Regions from separate parts of the Homo sapiens genome. Here region 1 is linked to region 2. The links are contacts of gene promoters, found by promoter capture Hi-C in blood cells and fetal thymus (Javierre and others, 2016). All regions are on one chromosome and are shown on one strand. Each heading gives the region's core, a stretch centred on a gene start or on the middle of the fragment in contact. The rest is flanking DNA. Distances are from core to core; before and after follow the strand shown.

What was found. The method cuts DNA at HindIII sites, captures the fragments that hold promoters and counts their contacts. A CHiCAGO score of 5 or more calls a contact.
Region 1: a contact is called between a fragment that was not itself captured here and the fragment with the promoter of LINC00572 in region 2, in 5 of 17 cell types (non-activated CD4 T cells, total CD8 T cells, total CD4 T cells and 2 more). The highest score is 6.0, in non-activated CD4 T cells.

The regions. Positions count from the first base shown.
Region 1 is chr13:30,096,612-30,099,311 of GRCh38, forward strand. No RefSeq gene overlaps it. Among named protein-coding and RNA genes, the nearest start is that of LINC00365, 11 kb to the right of the region's middle. The HindIII fragment of the contact is 400 bases long and covers 1,125-1,524 here.
Region 2 is chr13:29,925,267-29,927,966 of GRCh38, forward strand. It overlaps LINC00572 (long intergenic non-protein coding RNA 572), which reads right to left and starts at 1,385. Exons shown (of 2, transcript NR_047501.1): 1 at 1,237-1,385. The HindIII fragment of the contact is 2,077 bases long and covers 525-2,601 here.

The DNA of each region.
Region 1 (2,700 bases), core at 75-2,574, 170 kb after region 2:
TCATTACATGGACATGATTGATTACAACATCATTAGTTGGTGACCAATTCAGTTCCTCCCTGCCCCATTGATGGAGGGCATGGCTGAGAGCCCCAACCGTCTAATCCTGCCTTGCTCTTTCTAGTGATCAGCCCCATCCTGAGGCTACCTGGGGACCCCAGCCACCAGTCATCTCACTAGCATACAAAAATACACTCTTACCACTCCAGAGATTCTAAGGTTTTTAGCAATTATATTTCAGAAAATGGGAGATGAAGACCAAACATATATTTCAGAATATCACAGGTGCCTTCCAAGTCCCAAGGCTCCAGCCAATGAGGCTATTTACAGGTGAGGATTGGGCCTCCCTGCAAAGGGGTCAAGGTACTCACGGGCTACTGGATAAGTGCCCACTTGCCCCCCAAGGGCTCCTGACTTCCTCCTGTGAACATAAATCTACTCTTGTCTAATGATAAGGGAATCATGCATAAATGTGCATTGGGTAACATGGGGCCGTAGGTGAACACTGGACTGACATTCATGAGCCCCAGGCTTGGTTGTTGTTTTATCAATAATAAACTGGGTCACTTTGGGAGGGTCCCACAGTGTCCCTGAAGCCCCTTTCTTCACTATAAAGTAACAGTCATATAACATAAATATGAGTATATGACCATAAAGTAACAGTCATTCCTTCACTATAAAGTAACAGTCATATAACATAAATATGAGTATATGACTATAAAGTTAACAGTCATATAACCAAATTCGTATCCGGCGAATTTGAAACTGACTCCATCATTTGCTGTAACTTTGAACTAGTTACAACTTCTTTTTTTTTTTTTTTTCTGAGATGGAGTTTCTTTCTGATTGTCCAAGCTTGAGTGCAATGGCACGATCTCGGCTCACTGCAACCTCAGCCTCCTGGGTTCAAGCGATTCTCCTGCCTCAGCCTCCTGAGTAGCTGGGATTACAGGAGCGCACCACCACACCCAGCCAATTTTTTGTATTTTTAGTAGCAATGAGGTTTCACCATGTTACCTGTGGCTGAACTCCTGACCTCAGGTTATCTGCCCGCCTCAGCCTCCCAAAGTGCTAGGACTACAGGTGTGAGCCACCGCGCCTGGCCTATATCTTTAACCTCCCAAAGCTTCCATTTTTCTTACATGTAAAGTAGGTGTGATCATAATCCTGACTTTGTAAGGTTTAGAAATAACTTATATAAATCATTAGCATTGGGCTATCCATGAAACAGGCACTTAAATAGCAGAAATTGTCATCACTTCCAGTTGTATGAGTCTTAGCCTTGTGACAAAATTGTGAAACAGGGCACTGCTATCACTTTTAGACTCAAGGATCACAGATGCCTTGCTCAGTGGGGCTGGAGAAGCAAACCAGTGATAAATTTGGTGCTGAGCTCGTGCAGCAAGACCCAGACCCCGTGCTGCTGTCCAGACCAACGTCCCCTCCTGAAGAAGTGAGTTTTAAAAAGACATCCAGGTTGGAGCCATAATTAGAAATGACTGAGAGCCTTAAGCGAAAACAGCAAGCTTTTACTAATCAATAACAGTCATTTCTTTCAGAGAGAAAAGACAGATTTCAAAAGACATTGGAATTGGAAATGCATCCAGGATCCTCGGCCTGAGTGCTGAGAAGGTGTGGAAGTGTAGCCTAACATTCCGAACTGGAAGCCGTCCCTCACTGCCAAGCAAGGTCACCACCAGGCAACTCCTCCCAACCTCCAACAATCCCCTCATTGGGAACCCTTAGCCTCTGCCCAGACACCCCAGGCCCAGTTTTCTCAAGAGACTTCTGGCATTTCGAAAGCAAACCATCTTTCACTTTTCTCTTCTGGATGAAAACTCTGATTTTTTAAAAAAGCTCCTTTTAAAGAGATTTCCATTGTGAACATCCTTACACCTGCACAAATGCACTCATCTGGCCAGTTGCTGTTCAGAATAACAGTGCCAGAGACAACACTCACCTACACTCCTCCACCTCTTGTCCTGTCTCCCTCCTCCCCCGACATTAGGTTGGGGCTGCATGACTAGTGTGGCCAAAGAAATCTGAGCAGCAGCTTCGGGCTTCCACCCAGGCTGAGGTCATTAAGAGCTAGTGTGGCTTCTCCATCTCTTTCTTTCCCTGTCCTGGAGGCCTCCATCTCTCTCATCCTCTACAGAGGAGTAGCTGCAAGAAAGCAGAGAGCCACCGAACCCACATCAGGCTTTGAGAGTGAGATCTAAACCTGAGACTTGAAGGTTTGTCTACTGTGGCCGCTACCATTAGTACCCGAACTAATAATGTAGGGTCAGTTTTCAGACAGCCCCTTTCACATTCTCAGAAGCAGATGCAATTTTCTATCCCATGCTCACGTCTCAAGCTTGTATGGAGCCTCCACTGTGTGCCAGGCACTACTGGGATGGGGATTAAGAAGGTGAGTAAATCCCTCCCCGGCCTTCCCTAAAGGATTGTGCCATCTATTAGGGCAAGACAGACACATAATGAGCTCACACTCCCGGACAGATCTGTCTCGATGGTGTGGGCAAAGTAATGATCTCTGAAGAACTGTCTCCCGGCTCTCGTTTCAGCAAATCCAGAGTAATCACGGGCGCTAACAGGAAATGTTAGTATCAGAGAGTGTACTTTCTTTGGTCAGGCATATTTTATTGAATCACATTCAATTAGGCTATTAATGGATTCTTTTTTTTTTTTTTTTTTTTTTTT
Region 2 (2,700 bases), core at 135-2,634:
CAGTGACTTCAAAACCATCAAAACAAGAAGTCACTGATTTTAAATCCTTTACTGAGATTGATAGGGAAAAAGGATTATGCAGGAGCTGGACGTGAACCGTGGCTGCTACACAATTTGGGCTAGGGCTTACTCTTCTCTCATTAAAAAACCCTATTTATTCCACCAAAGTAGGTAGAGTTCTCCCTCTCCTCTTTGGATTCTCTACTATATTCCTTAGTAACGTCATGAGGCTTTCTCAGGACTAAGCCTGCAAGTTGTCTATTAAGCCAGCTTTCCAGTGGGGACTGCCTAATATTGACCAAATACTTTAGAGAGTCATATCATCTGTGAGCTGGCAGAGATCCAGAACTCCAGTCTAGCACTCACATTTTACAGACAAGGAAGCCAGTGCCAGGGCCTTAGCCTGGTTTCACAACTCTTTCTCTGGTTCTCTTGGTGACTGACAACAAAACGACGCCTCCCTATTCTGGTGTGGCTTGGGCTTCTGGCTGCTGGCACAGGAATAGCCAAAATCCTTCCTTTCAAGCTTTCTGTGTAATGGAAACCCTGCTTGACTAATTAGGGCCCACCTCTCTCAAACTCCTGAATCACTGGCATTCATTAAATATAGAAAAGCATTTTATCCCCCTAATGAAGGAGAACTGGAATAACATAGATGAGTCACACACACTGAAAACTGTCATGATATTCAAGAAAGGTGACCTTCTCTCACACCTGCAGACCTGGGAGGGTGGATTGAAATCTACATCCAGTTTTCTCCTTGGGCTCTGACTGGCAGGAGGGTTTGTTGCTTGTTTTTTTTTCTTTTTTCTCCAGTTCCTTGTAGTAGGATGGAGATGTGGGTTCTGTTTTATGAGGTGTGGATTGCGTGGGCTGATGGCGTGGAGGAGGAGACTAGAAGAAAAGCAATACACACACACACACAGAAACACACACATACCGCCCCCACACACATTAATGCATACACACAAACCCCACAAAAACACACATGCAGAGATACACATGCACACACTCATACCACACACACAGACACAAACACAACCATACACTCACAACACACAAATGCACATATCAACACACACATAGACACTCTCACGCACATGCAAACACTCAGACACATACACCCACTCACACTACACACAAACACAAATAAATATGTACTCACATTCTCTCTCACACACACTCTCTCACACACACACTCACACACACACACATACACCTTTGGTTGCCACAGACCTTGGTGTTTGTTCCCACTGGCTGGCTCAGCAGAAAATGTGGCTGAGTTGTAAGACTCTGTTTTGAATGTGGGAGTTGGAAAGAGCAAAGATATTCTTCAGGTTCAGGAAGGCACCGGCCAACAGGAGCCGAAGGAGGAAGAGAGAAGAGATGATTTTCTTCCCTAAGAATAACTTTTGAAGGTGGAGCTGAATTTCACCTGTTCACCTTGGTGATGTCACTTTACCCCACTGTTTCTCAACGTGCAGTGCCTCTGATGAACCTGATGCCAGGCCTGTGAGGTACACCTTTAGCCACTTCTATGATGCCAGTTTTTGTTGACAACACATGTTCTGAATGCACCATGGCTGGCTGACTTTGACTGGGCAGATAGCACAAATCTCCAGTCTGAAAGTCATCATAATACTTGGAATGTTTAGAAAAGTCATAACTTAGGGGTGGTTCGTAACTTCTTAGAATTGTGCTTCCCTCAAATTATATATAAGCAGAAGAGAGCAGCTTTGGATGATGGGAGTAATTCAGGAGTAACCAGGGATCCCTAGATCTGGAAGAAGGAAGTAAAGTTAGTGCTTTCTTCAAAGGTTTCAATATTTCCTTATATTTTAGTGCAGCTTAAATCCAAAATCATAACTAAGGATATCTTTGCTATGGGAAATAGCTTGTTAAATGGATGCTGTTGGCCAATTTAAAAAGAATGACATGAAATGATTCCACAAGCTGCAGATCTACAGATGGGAATTAGATTGGGTATTCTGATTTAAGGAAACAAATTTGAGAGAAAAAGAATTCCATTTTATTGCAAAATTAGAGTTGAATAAATCAGGTAGGTAATGAAAGATTCAGGGAAAGATGATACTTCTAAAAACAAAGTTCTACAATCTCCAACCCAGATTTCACAAGCCCCCAGGATTGTTTCAATTTTGTCAGTGGGCTTAAAGAACTTATCCAAAAATTCTTAAAATAACATTAAATCCTTTAAAGTATTTTGTAAGATGTAAGAGTGCCATTGTAAAAAAGAGAATAGGGATTATTATGACATCCAACTAATTATGGGATACTGCAAGCACCAGAAGTGTAGTCATTGCTGAATTAGTTTCTGAACTTCCAACTCAGAACAGATCTGGATTTGCTCTACAGGGTGTGCATCTCTTATCAGATTTGGAATATATATATATATATATATATATATATATATATATATATATATTGGATTTTGGAATATTTGCATATACATAATGAGGTATCTTGGTGGTGGGACCCAAGTCTGAACAAACACGAAATTCATTTATGTTTCATATACATCTTATGCACATGGCCTGGAGGTAATTTTATACAATATTTTAAATGAGTTTGTGCCTGAAACAAAGCTTTGACTGTGTTTTAGCTGCCATCTGTCACCTAAGGCCAGGTGCGGAATTTTCCACTTGTGGTGGCATGTTGGCAACCAAAAAAGTTTTAGATTCT